Linked DNA regions of Homo sapiens: all the other regions are linked to region 1. Evidence: promoter capture Hi-C in 16 types of primary human blood cells and fetal thymus (Javierre and others, 2016). All regions are on one chromosome and are shown on one strand. Each heading gives the region's core, a stretch centred on a gene start or on the middle of the fragment in contact. The rest is flanking DNA. Distances are from core to core; before and after follow the strand shown. Region 1 holds the start of LINC01090 (long intergenic non-protein coding RNA 1090). Region 2 has its middle 250 kb from the start of TFPI. Region 3 has its middle 310 kb from the start of TFPI.

Region 1 (5,030 bases), core at 1,357-3,856:
ATAATGTCATTTAGATGATCACTTGGTATCAATGTGATTATAAAAATAAAACAAATGGTAGTCCAGTATTTAGGAATAAGGAGGTTGATGAGATGAACGAATCCATGCTTACATTATATATTTACACATAGATATTTTGGGTTTTTTAGCCATAATATTAAAAGATTATAATAACTCTCGATTCCCAAGAATACATCAACATACCACTACAGTTGGCTGACCCTAGTTTGTGAACAACTAGATCAGTGTTCAGGACACACAATTCAACTTGAACAAGTTCAAGGCCAAAGAACAAAATCAGGCTACAGAGATCAAACTTTCCATCCTGTGAAATAATGGAAAATCCCATAGCATGTACTTATTTCTCATTCATTTGCCTCTAGTACCTGTAAGAAGGTCTTTTTAAAAAATTCTTCCTTACCATATACAATGTTGAAAATCATCTGAACATTTACATAACTAACTCCCATGTTCTCAGGGATGAGACCCTATATACTCCTTCTAAGTAAGAGTTATTTACTACTCCGGCCTCATCCTCAGTTTCCTAAAGGCATATCATAGCCTCTTTAGAGATCTGTCTTTCCTATCCATAAGACTTGGAAGATCCTAAAGAGGGAAAAAAAAATATGGCTACAAAGCACATCCATCATGAATGGATAAATGAAGATAGATGAGTCCTCATAACTGTCTTTTTCCAATCGTTACATACAGTGCTAAAGATTACTCACTTTTATATTTTCTCCCACTGTTTAAAGTCTTTAAACTTGCTATTGCTTTGTAATTTTTATAACCTGACTTTTGATATGATCTTCTTTGTGAAATGGCTTAGAGGTATAAAAATCTCAAGAGTGTCAGAACCAAGTTTTTAAAAACAATAGAACCAAATGGAACAAGATTTTAAAACAAATTTATAGCATGCCCCAGGAAGTGAAGAAGGGAGATGCCAAAGAAAAGGGTTGCAGAAGCCTAGCAGGGCACTACGATGACAAATACGCCTAATTTTACCTACTGCAAATACCTCAGATTTCCATTTGAAAGTTCTTCACATTCATCATAGGTTCATATAGACCCTGATAGAAACTCAGCAGCTTTCCAGTAATTTTTATTTTTATTTATTTATTTATTTTTTTTTTTTGAGGCGGAGTCTTGCTTTGTCGCCCAGGCTGGAGTGCAGTGGTGCGATCTTGGCTCACTGCAAGCTCCGCCTCCGTGTTCACACCGTTCTCCTTCCTCAGCCGCCCGAGTAGCTGGGACTACAGGCGGCCGCCACCATGCCCGGCTATTTTTTTTTTTTTTTTTTTTTTTTTTTGTATTTTTAGTAGAGACAAGATTTCACTCTGCTAGCCAGGATGGTCTCAATCTCCTGACCTCGTGATCCACCCGCCTCGGCCTGCCAAAGTGCTGGGATTACAGGTGTGAGCCACCACGCCTGGCCTCCAGTATTTTTAAATTAATTTTCTTGCTCAAACCAGAATTAAGTTTCTCTTACCCTAACTAAGGGAACTTTGGCTAAGACAAAAAAACGACCTGTTACTTACCTTAAGAAAACCAATTTTATTTCTGATTATTGCAAAAGCACACAAAAAATATGCTGGTTGTTTAGCCCTATATTTCTGCAAAACCAACATTTAAAGTATTTGACAACTTTTTAAAAACTGTAATGAAAACCAAGACTGAAATTCAAATTTCAGTCATGTGATTTGAAAGGGGGTCATGTTTCTGTTTGTCATGTGTAACAGTGGCCAAATATCCTATGAGTTCCTAGGGGCTCTGGGTTCCAAAGTTACTGTGTTACATTTACCTTCAAACCTCTATCATTTTATCTGTCATTCTGAAAGAATCGCTTTATTTTGATCTTCTTGATTAAGAACATGAAACATGACCATTGCAAAAAAAGAAAAAAAAATAGGAGGGCAACTGCAAAAGGGAAATAAATATCACCTGTATTCCCATCACCAAAAGTACCTATTGCTCACATTTTCTCTATATGCTCCAAGGTTTGTTGAGGCCTCTGAGAGACCCGGATAAATAGTATCCCTTCTTTATGCCTGGGTGGGGAATAAATTGACCAAAAAAATGAGAGCAAAATATTACTCTATGATTGACAGATAACGGATTTGAATTGGTAGATCCAAAAGCAAAGAACTGAAACAGCAGCCTCAGTCAACGTAGTTCCTGGCCTCCTTCTAACCTGAAAGGAGACAGTGCCTTTGAAAAAGGATTTAAATTGTTTTTTGAGTTCTATTCCAAAGAATGAAAGAGAGAGAAAGGTAGTTGAGCCTGGCATGCCCAGCAATTCTTCCCAAGTTTATTCCTAAGTTTATCTACCAAATGTCATAACATCTCTCCAAGGGCAAGTAAGTAAAGACCCAGTAAAATATTTTTGCATGGAAACCAGGAGTAGAGGAAAGGCATTACCCAGCACCCACAGACACTTAACAATTTTCTTTCCATTTTTTTCATGTGGAAGTATAACGTACATACTACTCCTTTTTTTTTTTTTTTTTTTTTTTTTTTTGAGACGGAGTCTCCCTCTGTCGCCCAGGCTGGAGTGCAGTGGCGCGATCTCGGCTCACGGCAAGCTCCGCCTCCCGGGTTCACGCCATTTTCCTGCCTCAGCCTCCTGAGTAGCTGGAACTACAGGCGCCGCGCCACCACTCCCGGCTAATTTTTTTATTTTATTTTATTTTTTATTTTTAGTAGAGACGGGGTTTCACCGTAGCCAGAATGGTCTTGATCTCCTGACCTCGTCATCCGCCCGCCTCGGCCTCCCAAAGTGCTGGGCTTACAGGCGTGAGACACTGCGCCCGGCCCATACTACTACTTTTTTGTAAGTATTCTTTCAAAATATTTATTTTCATATGCATTTTTCGTTTACCTAAATGACATCATGTAAACTATTCCATCTTGGCCCTTAATTTTTTTTCTCCAAACACTTAAATTTTCAAATAATCTTAGTGAAAAATTAGCAGCTCAATCGCTTTAATTTTTATTACTTTCACTGTTAATAAAACTGAATAAGTTTTCATAAAGTTAATAACCGTTTATATTTTCTTTTGTGAGGTGGCTATTTATATATTCTGTACATTTTTCTCTTTTCTCTATTGTTTCATATATTTTTTCTTTTTCTTATTGATTTTTAAAGGTTCTGTATGAGGTAAATATATTAACCTCTAGCCAAAAAACGGGTATTTGTCTTATTAACTTAATTAAAATAATTAAATTATTTTGTTCTATTTTAAAACTATGTAGAATTTCTTTAAATGTAATCGGTTTATGATTTCTTGAGTTTTTAAAAAATATAATGACATTTCACCCAAACTAATTAGCAATATTTTCTTCTAGTATTTTGTAGTTTTCGTTTTTCAATTTATTCTGATGTGAAATCTAAAGATAGGGCTTTTGTTTCCCCCAGAATAATGACCTAGGTGTCCAACACCACATATTGAATAGATCCATTCTTTGTCCAGTGATTTTAGCAGTAATTTTTATCATATGTTAACTTAGATATAAAACAGGGTCTGTTCAATCAGAACTTCCAGGTGTGGTCAAACAGCATGCAAAATGCAGTAAGACACCTAAAAAAGGTCCAGTGCAGAATAAAATCCAGCCAAGCTCTTTTGCCAGCCAAGCCAATGGAGCTTGCGAGCAAGAAGAAAGGGATATCTTTTCTAACTACAAAGGCATCTTCGGCTCCTAGCCAAGCACCTGCAGAGCTTCCTTGGAAAGAATTGGGCATCATGTGGGCTAGCGGTAGTCCTTTCCCATTTAATAGTCAGTGTATTTCTGCAATAGAACATTATTAATTATCTCAAACTATCATTGTTTAAAATATCTACTGGGGCAAATTCTCCTTTATTATTTTCTCCCCCTTTCAAAGGTTTCATCACTATTCTCTCAAAGTTATTTTTCCAAATGAACTTTGGATCCATTCTGTTAAGTTTCCTTGTCACAACTTCCTATTTCCTACCTTTGCCCACAAAAGTCTTCTGTTAGAAGTGTGTTCAACTCATGTATCAATTTACTTGAATTCACTTCATTATTCAATTTTTTCTTCTGATCCTGAAAAAGGATGCTTTTTCAACTTGAAAAGACCTGACTCTGCACCCATTCAAATTATATTTTTACTCTCCAATCTATTAAATTACCACTTGTTAAGTTCCATGTTGTTGCTAAGAGTGAAAGGGCCATTTTTCTACAACAATTGCAGGACATAAATAATACTTGGAATAGAAGAGCCCTACTTAACACGAGTAATGAGAGAAAGCACAGATCTTAATCAAGGGTCACATTTCTGCTTCTTGTTCCAGTTCATGTGCACTCTAGATGATAGTGAATGAATACCTTATATGGAGTCCAGCCATGACCAAAAGACAGGAGCTAACACTCAGCTTCATGGAAAGGCCCAATCTAATGTCCAGGAATAGACTCCTGAGGTATGGTCTTCTGCCACAGAGCTTTCAGGCCTAGAAAATTTGCTTGAAGCAGTTTTACTTGCTTGAAAAACTGCTGCGATAAGAAGATATTTTTTTCATTTGAAGTCTCACATACTTAAAATACAAAAATAGAACAAAGACATTGCATTGCAAATAGAATTACAGTCTTATTTTCTTAATAGAGTAAAAAATAAATTGTCTAAAATGATTTTTGACAAAGGAAACTTTTTATTTGAAAATTATGATTTGCAGTCTTTCACTAGAATGCTAATTTATTAACTCTCTTCAAAATCCTGTATCAGAATTTACTCAGGCTTGCTGATAGGGCTTAACAAAAAAGCAAAGCTAAGCAAGGCACCTATACGCTTGGGCCTGACATAATGTGATTTGAGAAAATGTCATCATGCTTTAAAATGCAAAGCGCCTATCACAACCGAACAACAAAAGACGTTCTCTCATTGAGTATCTTTTCCATAACAGGGCTAAAATAATTCTGAGAGTGGCTTTTCTGTAAAAGGCAGTCTGTGGCAAGAATTGTTGGAACAGAGACTTGCCATGCTGGTTCTGCATCAACAGTCTCTCTAGCTCAGCAAT
Region 2 (5,030 bases), core at 1,751-4,250, 490 kb after region 1:
GTAGCTGGGACTACAGTAGCGTGCCTCCATTCCAGGCTAATTTTGTATTTTTAGTAGAGAAGGGGTTTCACCATGTTGGCCAGGATGGTCTCAATCTCTTGACCTCGTGATCCGCCCTCCTCTGCATCCCAAAGTGCTGGGATTACAGGTGTGAGCCACCGCGCCCAGCCTATCCTATTTTTTAGTGGAAAAAGGATCCATCATGCTAAAGGATTTCCCAGAATCACCTGCATAGTATGTAAATACTGAGTTCATGTCTTGGACATTCTAAAGCCACGTTCTTGTAATTTCAACCTTTTAAATTATGAACAAATCAAGTAATACAAAGCGGTAAAAAAATTTTAGCTAAAATACTAAGAATCATCTAGATTTACTTAATTATTAAGTATTTGTTTTAAAATAGTCATATGTTTATCCTCTGCTGCATCCAAAAAGGTGATTTTAAAAAATGTTCTTTTGGCCAGGCACGGTAGCTCACGCCTATAATCCCACTACTTTGGGAGGTCGAGGCGGGCAGATCATCAGATCAGGAGTTCGAGACCAGCCTGGCCAACATAGTGAAACCCCATCTCTGCTAAAAATACAAACTTATCTGGGTGTGGTGGTACGGGCCTGTAGTCCCAGCTACTCGGAAGGCTGAGGCAGGAGAATCGCTTGAACCCGGGAGGTGGAGGTTGCAGTGGGCCAAGACCGCGTACCGTTGCACTCCAGCCTGGGTGACAGAGTGAGACTCCATCTCAAAAATAAATAAATAAATTAAATAAATAAATAAATAGAAATAAATAAGTAAATAAATAATGTTCTTTTTAGGTTTTATATTTGTGAGAAAAAAATCAATGACTAAATCTTCAGCAATGTGGTAGTAAATGAGAGAAATCAATTTCTTTAAACTTGATAGATTAGAATTTTACCAGAGAGAATTTCAGAGAACAGATAACTATGACAATTTTCATTAGAATTGTATGTTCAATAAATACTGCTTACCATCAAGTGTAACTGAGTACAAATTATAAAGACATTTTAGAAAATTAGATTTAATTTTATTTACTAGGGCTAACTTCCAAAGAATTTATAATAGAAAATATGAAGTCATTACAACATAAAGAAAAATGTTTCATGAGGAAAAAAAGCTAACCATCTGAGATGACCACCTCAAACACAAGGGCAAAGAACTGGAATAAAATTCAGTAATGAATCAAGTGTAGAATAAATGAGTATCTAAAGTTAGTTTGAAAGAATGGCCTTGAAGAGGCTTGAAGAACAATAAAAATGTAATTTCATTTCTTTTAATAAATAGCTTTTAAAGTCCTGCATTATACAAACTAAAAAAAGTGATATGTTACCTACCACTTCATTTTAATAATTTGACTTTTATTTTTTCATATTTAAGAAAAATATGTAGACACCATATTGACATATTTCTTTTTCATTCCAAGTCTATTTCTGATGTTATGACTTAAGTAACTATACTTATGGATCAACTTTCAGAAAGCTGAAAAATATAGAAAATGAAATAGGGTTATGGGTTGAATTTCTGCAGTTGCAAGACACAGTTTGATATTTTTTCCCTGAAGTAAATATAACTTATATTTTTTAAACTCCAGATTCAGTTTTCTTTAAGTTTGATAACTTTTTGAAAGAAGTAGATTATATTGTTACAGGTTTGAAAACTGACATCACAGAAAAGGTGCTAATGAGTTATTTTAGTGAAGACTTGGTTAAAATGCATGATGACAAGGCTAGGCTAAATGGGAAAATAATATGTAGTCAGACTCAGATAAATTTATCTGAGCCCCTTTTGGCTCAGATAAATTTGGAGTGGGCAATAGGAAATTTCTTTACCAAAATATTTTAATAAGAAAGAATGGAAAGAAAATCCCATTAGCGCTCCCAACATTTAGAGATTATATTTAATACTCTTAAAACTGCTTTAGAAAGGAATTAGAACTCCTTGGAGAAATGCCTGATTCACATGAACATAAAACATTGTTTTTTTTGTGCCTGAAAATAGAGATATTCAAACAATGGGAGAGACACATCAAAAAGATACAGGAGCCAGCTCAAGCAAGCAACCACTGGCCAAATCAGGGACATTTTGAGAATCAAGTAGGCTGCAGGGAAAAGATTCAACTTGCTCAGAGCTGAGGTGGGGAATATTTTGGACAAGCTTCCCTCAAATTGAGGTGTCTCATGTTGCCGTTGCCTTGAGTTAACTCTGTATTTCTGGAGAAGCTACTCTGAGGTAGCTGAAAAATTTTTGTGGGCATATGGAGAACAAAGGAGTAACATTTATTCAAGAAAATCTTCTAAATTTGTCTAGGATAGTAAGGATCTGTGGCATTTGAACCACAAACTACCTTCACCCCCACCTCCACCTCTCACCCGTCCCTCATAGGCTCCATCTTATGAAAAAAAAGTACTCCAGGAGCTCTAATATAGGAAGGTGAAGCCAAGAAGATGCGGTCCTCTCTCTCCTGCAGATTCCAGGTGGGGCCTTGGTTTCAACTTGCAGGTGGAGCGAACAGGCTGTAAGAATTTCTCATTCCACCCTCAGCCATGTTAAGTCCATGTAAGTTGTATTTCAGGCAGGTGCGGTTGAGAGGACCCTTGCTTCACCTAGCCTTTAATCACAAGGGTGAAGCTTTACCCTAGATGCAACAGACCAAGAATACTGTATTCTGTTCTCTTATACAATAGCTACAAGCTCACTCATAGGGCATAGGTTACATACCAGGAGAGGCAAGGCAAGAAGACCAGAGCCCCTTCCAACCTACACTCTCGAAGCAGAGCTGTCACTCCAGGAAATGTAGGCTACTGTCCCTGTGCCCAGTTCTAGTGTAGTAGTGCAGAGGTTCTACCTATGGGGAGAGGTAAGCTGGAGAGGTCATACCTAAGGGCGAAGAGCTCCACAGCTCTACATGAGAAAACTAATTTTATTTGTAATAAATTATGGAGGATTTCATGCCTAAGGATTCTGCTAAAAGCAATGGAGTTTTTGGGGAAGGGCAATTAAGAAGACATATCTATAACTCCATGATACAAGTATTAATAAGCAAAACTGCTGAGCATCAGAATTTTATCATAGAGAAGCAGAGAATGAGTGAGCCAAGAAGGTCTATCCTGTGATGACAGCCAACAGGGTTGGAAGGGCTGTCTATATGCTCTAAACTGTACCTTGTCAGGAGTAATCAGGGCAGAATGTAAAGAATATTTGAAAGAATTCCTTAACCACAACAACGGGCATCAGCAAAGGGCAGAAGTCTCAGTGGCGCAAGAGCTTAAGCACAACCTCTGACCATTTTCTAGCTAAACAAAAAGCTATTTTGACATAGGGGCAACTCCTAGAAAACTAAGCTTTAAAATGACATTACATGTATCCATGGCAACCTGGAAGATTGTATGTATGGCCAAGATGTTGCCCTCCAGGAGTGAATGGAGAAGTAAAATCTAAGCTACTCATACTTGCGTGAAGACGTGGCAAAAACAGATTCCTTTGACTCTTAACAGCAGCCTCCACACCACAAATACGTTCAATGATAAAGATTAAAAATCTAACAGGTGAAGAGGGATTAAGCACAACTCCTGAATAATAAATGACCTATGCTAATCCAGGGACAATACCTACATAACCAGGCTGAAATATTAAAATAAGAAAAATTCTGAGCGAGTACATCAAAAGTCACATGGTCGTACTGAGAAATGACTCTGCAGAAAGTCTAGCCATTAAACAAATAAAATATTATTTAAATGTTTAATGGCAACTAAATATTATTAAGCAAATAAATACATGGCCAATGAAAAAGCTACAACATAACCTGGGGTGAATGGGATCAGCAACATGCGGTGCTACCATATATTATCTGAAAGGCTGCATTTGCAACGTAAAATTTTGAGATGCACAGAAACAGAGATAATCATAACCATATACAGAAAAAGCAGATAATAGAAACTTATTTGGAAATGGTCTAGATACTGCAGTTATCACAGACTTTAAATCAGCCACTATAAATATATTCAAAGAACTAAGAAACCGTGTCTAAAAAAAATTAAAGAAAAATGGCAATAATGTTCCATGAATAGAAAGAGAGAGAAATTGTTTTTTGGAGAACCGCATGAAAATTTTATAGTTGAAAATGCAATAATCAAAATGAAATATTCACTAAATTGGCTCAACAGTAGATTTGAGTTGACAAAGGAAAGAATCAGCAAACTTGATGATAGAGCAATACAGGTTATGTAATCGGAAGAAGATAGAGAAAAAAGAATAAGAATAAATGAAGTGAGCCACAGAGAAAAGTAAGACACCAATAAGTACCCCAACAAAGGTATAATGGAAAAACCATGAAGAAGAGAAAGAAAAGGGCAGAAAAATATTCCAAGAATGACTGAAAACTTTCTACATTTGATGAAAAACATTGATCAGATAATTTAAGAATTTTGATGAACTCTAAATATTTTAAGCACAAAGAAATCCACACTTAGACATAGTCAAAATGTTGATGCCAAAGACAAAGTCTTGAAGGCAGTCAGAGAGAAAAATGACTTGTGATATACAAGGGAATCCCAAAAAGTTTAAAAACTGAATTCTCATGAGAAGCAACAGAAGCCAAAAGGCAAAGATATAATATATTTAAAGTGCTAAAATGAAAAAAACTGTCAACTAAGTATCTCATATTCATCAATATTATCTTTAATAAATGAAGATAAAGACATTCTCAGAAAAACAAAATTTGAGGAATTTATTGCTGGCAGACTCACAAGAAAATATTAAAAAGAATTCTTCAGGCTTAAAGCTAATGAAACTGGGTAGTAATAAAAAAACACATTAAAAAATAAAAAATTTCCAATAATGGTAATTATGTAAGTATAAAGGACAGTATAATTGGATAATTATTACTATTCATTTTCTTAACTCATTTAAGGAATAGTTGCATAAAATACATGTATATAATTGGATTGTTGGGTTTAAAACATTAGACAATAATATATTTGACAATAACAGCACAGAGGAGGTGGGTAGGAGAAAAGTT
Region 3 (5,030 bases), core at 1,842-4,341, 420 kb after region 1:
AACCCGGGAGGAGCTGGTGTTTTTCTAGTATAAGTGTCCTGCAGCTGGAGACCTGGAAAGGAGCTGATGTTCTATTTTGGGGGTTATGCAGCTTGAGACCCGGGGAGGAGATGATGTTGTTCTGTTTTAAGGGTCATGGAGCTGGAGACCAAGGGGGGAGCTGGTGTTATTCTTGTTTGAGGGTCATGGAGCTGGATACCCAGAGAGGAGTTGGTGGTGTTCTAGTTTGAGGTTAGTTCAGCTGAAGCCCTAGGCAGGAGAGGGTGTTTTTTAGTTTCAGAGTCATGTAGCTGTAGAACTTGGGAGGAGCTGGAGTTTTTCTAGTCTGAGTGTCGTGCAGCTGGAGACTCGGAGAGGAGCTGATGTTCTAGTTTGAGGGTCCTGAAGCTGGAGACTCAGGTAGGAGCTGATGTTTTTCTGATCAGAGTGTAGTGGAGCTGGACACCCAGGGAGAAGCTAGCGTTATTCTAGTTTGAGGTTCCTTGAGCTGGAAACCCAGGGAGGAGCTTATGTTGTTCTAGTTTGAGGGTCTTGCAGGTTGAGACCTGGGGAGGAGCTGGTGTTTTTCTAGTCTGAGGTTCGTTCAGCTGTAGACCCTGTGAGGAACAGGTGTTTTTTTTACTTGGAGGGTCATGCAGCTGTAGAACCCGGAGGAGCTGGCGTCTTTCTAGTGTGAGGGTCGTGCAGCTGGAGACCCGGAGAGGAGCTGGTGTTCTAGTTTGAGAGTTGTGCATCTGAAGACTCGGGGACAAGCTGATGTTCTAGTTTGACGGTCATGCAGCTGGACACCTTGGGAGGAGCTGATGTTCTAGTTTGAGGGTCATGCAGCTGAAGACTTGGGGAGGAGCTGATGTTCTAGTTTGATGGTCGTGCAGCTGGAGACCTGGGAAGGAGCTGATGTTATTCTAGTTTGAGGGTCATGGAGCTGGAGACCCTGGGAGGAGCTGATGTTTTTCTAGTTTGAGGCTCCTGTATCTGGAGACTCAGGTAGGAGCCGATGTTTTTCTGATCAGAGGGTCTTGGTGCTGGAGACACAGGGAGGAGCTGATGTTTTCCTAGTTCGAGGGTCGTGGAACTGGAGACCTGGGGAGGAGCTGATGTTTTTCTGATCAGAGGGTCATGGAGCTGGAGATACAAGGAGGAGCTGATGTTTTCCTACTTCAAGGGTCATGGAGCTGGAGACCCAGGGAGAAGCTGGTGCTGCTCTTGTTTAAGTCTGAAGGTCATAGAGCTGGAGACCCAGGGAGAAGCTGGTGCTGCTCTTGTTTAAGTCTGAGGGTCATGGAGCTGGAGATCCAAGGAGGAGCTGATGTTGTTTTCATTTGAAGGTCGTGGATCTGCAGACCTGGAGAGGAGCTGACACTGTTCCAGCTTGAGGGTTGTAGAGCTGGAGACCTGAGGAGGAGCTGATGCGGCTCTAGTCTGAGGGCCATGGAGCTGGAGATCCGGGGAGGAGCTAGTGTTTCTCCAGTGAGAAGTTTGTGGAGCTGGAGACCCAGGGGGGAGCTGGTGTCCCTCCAGGTTGAGGGTTGTGCAGCTGACCCTCAAACGACCTCAAACTAGAAAATCACTCCTACCCCTGGATTTCCAGCTCCTCCACCCTCAAACTAGAACAACACTGCCCCCACCCCCGCACCGTATCTCCAGCTCCATGACCCCTAAACCAAAAAAACACCAGCTCCTCCCTGGTTGTCCAGCCCCATGACCCTCAAACCAGAAAAACACAGCCCTTCCCTGGGTGTCCAGCTCCATGATGCTCAAACCAGACCAAAACCAGCTCCTTCCCGGGTGTCCAGCTGCAGGACCCTCAAACATTGTCCGCTGGTGATTTTTCTGGTCTTGTAGAATAAATCTGTTTGTACATGCTCACTTTTCTGATACTTCTGTCTGCTTTCTTAATTGCTGGAGCAGTTCTGACATATCTACCTCATTTACTTGGTGTTTCCAAGCTTCAAGGAATAATTATTGAAACATATTAGACCTATCTCCAGCATTCTTAAGGCATTATTCAATTCTAAATGATGAGTGAGTGGCCCTATGTCAGCAATTTTCTACCGGCCTTTACTTCATCTTTTCTGGTCCCACATCCTCAAGATCAATTGCCTAGCATGTTCTACAGATTTCTGCTGGTACATATTAGCCAGGACCTAGAATTCTTTTAGTGTATAATTTCCCTCCCATAGCAGGAACTATACTTTACCTGAGCTGTGGTGAGACTTGAATTTCCTTATTGGGCTAGAAGCTGTGAGCAGTGGTGGAGACACCTTAAAGGAGGCCAAGAATCATTTGGCAGGGCCTTAACTTCAGGTGAGTCCTTCTCATAATAGTATGAGGCTGTGTTTCTCCAGCAAGGAGAGTGAAATCTTCCCATCCTGCTTAGACTGTTTAGGGCTACCTAGAGGTTTAAACACCTCTCGCATGCATCTCTACCCAAATATTCTGGCCTAAGGGTCTCATTTATTTGTTAACACAGCTTTGGCTTTAACACAGGAGAAGCCCTGCTATGGCTGTAAATTAAGCTTCCTTTGTGGTGTGCGCTTGTTACAATTAAGATTGTAGTTTTCAACACACTCCTGTCTCTAGCCAGAATTGATAAGGGTCTCCTAAAGTGCCACCAAGGACACTTTCTGAAAGTCACACTATAAGTCATTTTGTTTGCTATTCTATGTTTGTTACTTTCCTTCTTTGGGGCTTCTATGGTGTTAACAATCACCAAACAATATCACAATATGCATAATTAGCATTCTTTTAAGCACTAGAGCTATTACATAAACCAGTGCTAAATTCTACAAGTCTTCTGGGTTTTCTAATCTAATCCATATGAGTAGTTGCATTGTATAGGATGCTGTGGATAATTATTAACCCAGTTACTAACAGCAAGGAGGGCCTTGTTGACATTTGCACAGCAAGTGATCTAACTCCAGAATCTCATCCTTCACCAACACTCTTTAGCTGAGTTCCCTAGAGGCATACTTCAAGAAAAGGATTTGGGCCGGGTGTGGTGGCTCACGCCTGTAACCCAGCACTCTGGGAGGCTGAGGCGGGTGGATCACGAGGTCAGGAGATTGAGACTATCCTGGCCAACATGGTGAAACCCCGTCTCTACTAAAAATGCAAAAATTAGCTGGGCATGGCGGTGCATGCCTGTAATCCCAGCTACTAGGGAGGCTGAGACAGGAGAATCACTTAAACCAGGGAGTTGGAGGTTGCAGCGAGCCGAAATCGTGCTACTACACTCCAGCCTGGCGACAGAGTGAGACTTCATCTTAAAAAAAAAAAAAAGAAAAAAGAAAAGAAAAGGATTTGATTGCAAATTAACTGCACGAAAAATCAGTAAAGAAGTGGGAAGTAAGATAGGAGAGGAAACAAAATTAATAAAAGGTGCTTTAACTAGCCAGGTTATCCCTGAGGCACTAAGGTTCAGTCTTAAGGAAAACCCCTGGTAGATGGCCAAGTTTTCTAATCCAAATTTCAAAAAACCTGAGACACTTATCCTTCAATTCATTTCTATAAATGAATGAGTGGCAACAACTAAGGGTTTAATCGTGGTCACTTCTAGCCTTACACAGCGTGTGAGTTGAGAAAAAGCTCTCAGGCAGAGACATCTTTGACATATATGGGAATGGAATTCCTTTCTGTAGCTCAGGATGCCATATAAGCTTCAATCATCTGACCCTTCTTTGAATCTCATGTTTTGTGGGACTCCAGTGCAAACGCATGTAATTAAAATAATTTTCTCCTGTTAATCTGTCTTATGTCAATTTAATTCATAGGCCAAAGAACATAGAAGGGTACACAGAAGACATTTTCCCTCTCTTACGCAGGTACAGGGAATATTGTTTGCAATGCTCACGGACAAAACAGAAAAAAAGCATAATACTTTCAGGGCATACAAATAGTTTGAAATGGCTAGAATGTGGAGTGATAATTCGATGAAGTTTTCTAAACAGGTTTCATGTTTGGTTTGGTTTGGTTTAATCTACAAAATAGGAATAAGAGTACCTAACTCTTACTCTTCATGTTAAAATTTAATTAATTATTAATATGTGAAGTACTTAGAACAGCTCCTGGCACTATCAAGTGTTTATAAATATTAACAATTATTAGCATTATTATATTTCTACTATTATTTTTAGAAGATTGGAAGTATGATCAACCACTTACTACAGAGTGAGGAGCAGAGGCACATGCCTCATCAGAACACCATACCCAGTGATATTCAGGAAAGCAATTTAAAAACCTCCTGACCCTTCTTTTTTTTGAGGGGATAGTGTGAGTGATAGGAAAAGGAGGTCACTGCTTTGTAAGTACACATATTTGATTAATGTAATTTGTATTTTCCTGTAGTACTGCCTAAGATTTATATTTTGAAATCCATATTACTTTATTATATAAATTGCATTATAATTATGTAATATATAAATACTTTTGTTTTAAATTTGATCTTATCCTTTTATCAAAATGAATGGCTTTTATATTTACCATCCAGAAATAAAGAAGGTAGTCTGTTGATACTGAAAATTACTGCTCTAAGAGGGTGATCATCAGTTTTACTTGTGAGAGTTTAAAGAAATTCTGAGGACCAGGTTTCCTCTCCTGCAGTTCTGATTTATAAATTCTAGTTGTGGCTTGGGGCATTGTGACTGAGACAATTAATAAAGATAATCTCAACCTAATTGATAAGAGTAATAGTGTGATGCATAAAATTATTGCCAATGATTTGGGTCAAAGAAAAATTCAAAGCTTTCTTACCCCTTAAAATCAGCTTGCATGTAAAATCAGAACCCTCCTATATTCAATCAATCACAAATATAACCAACTACTTCATGGAAACTACCAAAAAATTAATCAAATTCACAAACTTTTATAATTTATGCTCCTTCAGGAAAGAAGAACATTTCATTTGTTATTGAAGCTCTTTTATTACTGAGTAAAATAGCTTGAAGTATTAAACTGGTCACTTTAATAATGAATGATTTTATGATTACATTGCTCTCATAGCTTAATGCAAGAAAAATAAATTAGTTACA

The links. Contacts are between HindIII fragments. The CHiCAGO score rates a contact against its expected background, and 5 or more counts as called.
Region 2: a contact is called between a fragment that was not itself captured here and the fragment with the promoter of LINC01090 in region 1, in 1 of 17 cell types (M0 macrophages). The highest score is 5.3, in M0 macrophages.
Region 3: a fragment that was not itself captured here is called in contact with the fragment with the promoter of LINC01090 in region 1 in 1 of 17 cell types (M1 macrophages); the score reaches 6.1 in M1 macrophages.

The regions. Positions count from the first base shown.
Region 1 is chr2:188,285,267-188,290,296 of GRCh38, reverse strand. It overlaps LINC01090 (long intergenic non-protein coding RNA 1090), which reads left to right and starts at 2,606. Exons shown (of 3, transcript NR_126396.1): 1 at 2,606-2,830. The HindIII fragment of the contact is 11,348 bases long and covers 1-5,030 here.
Region 2 is chr2:187,798,103-187,803,132 of GRCh38, reverse strand. No RefSeq gene overlaps it. Among named protein-coding and RNA genes, the nearest start is that of TFPI, 250 kb to the right of the region's middle. The HindIII fragment of the contact is 713 bases long and covers 2,644-3,356 here.
Region 3 is chr2:187,863,078-187,868,107 of GRCh38, reverse strand. No RefSeq gene overlaps it. Among named protein-coding and RNA genes, the nearest start is that of TFPI, 310 kb to the right of the region's middle. The HindIII fragment of the contact is 1,140 bases long and covers 2,522-3,661 here.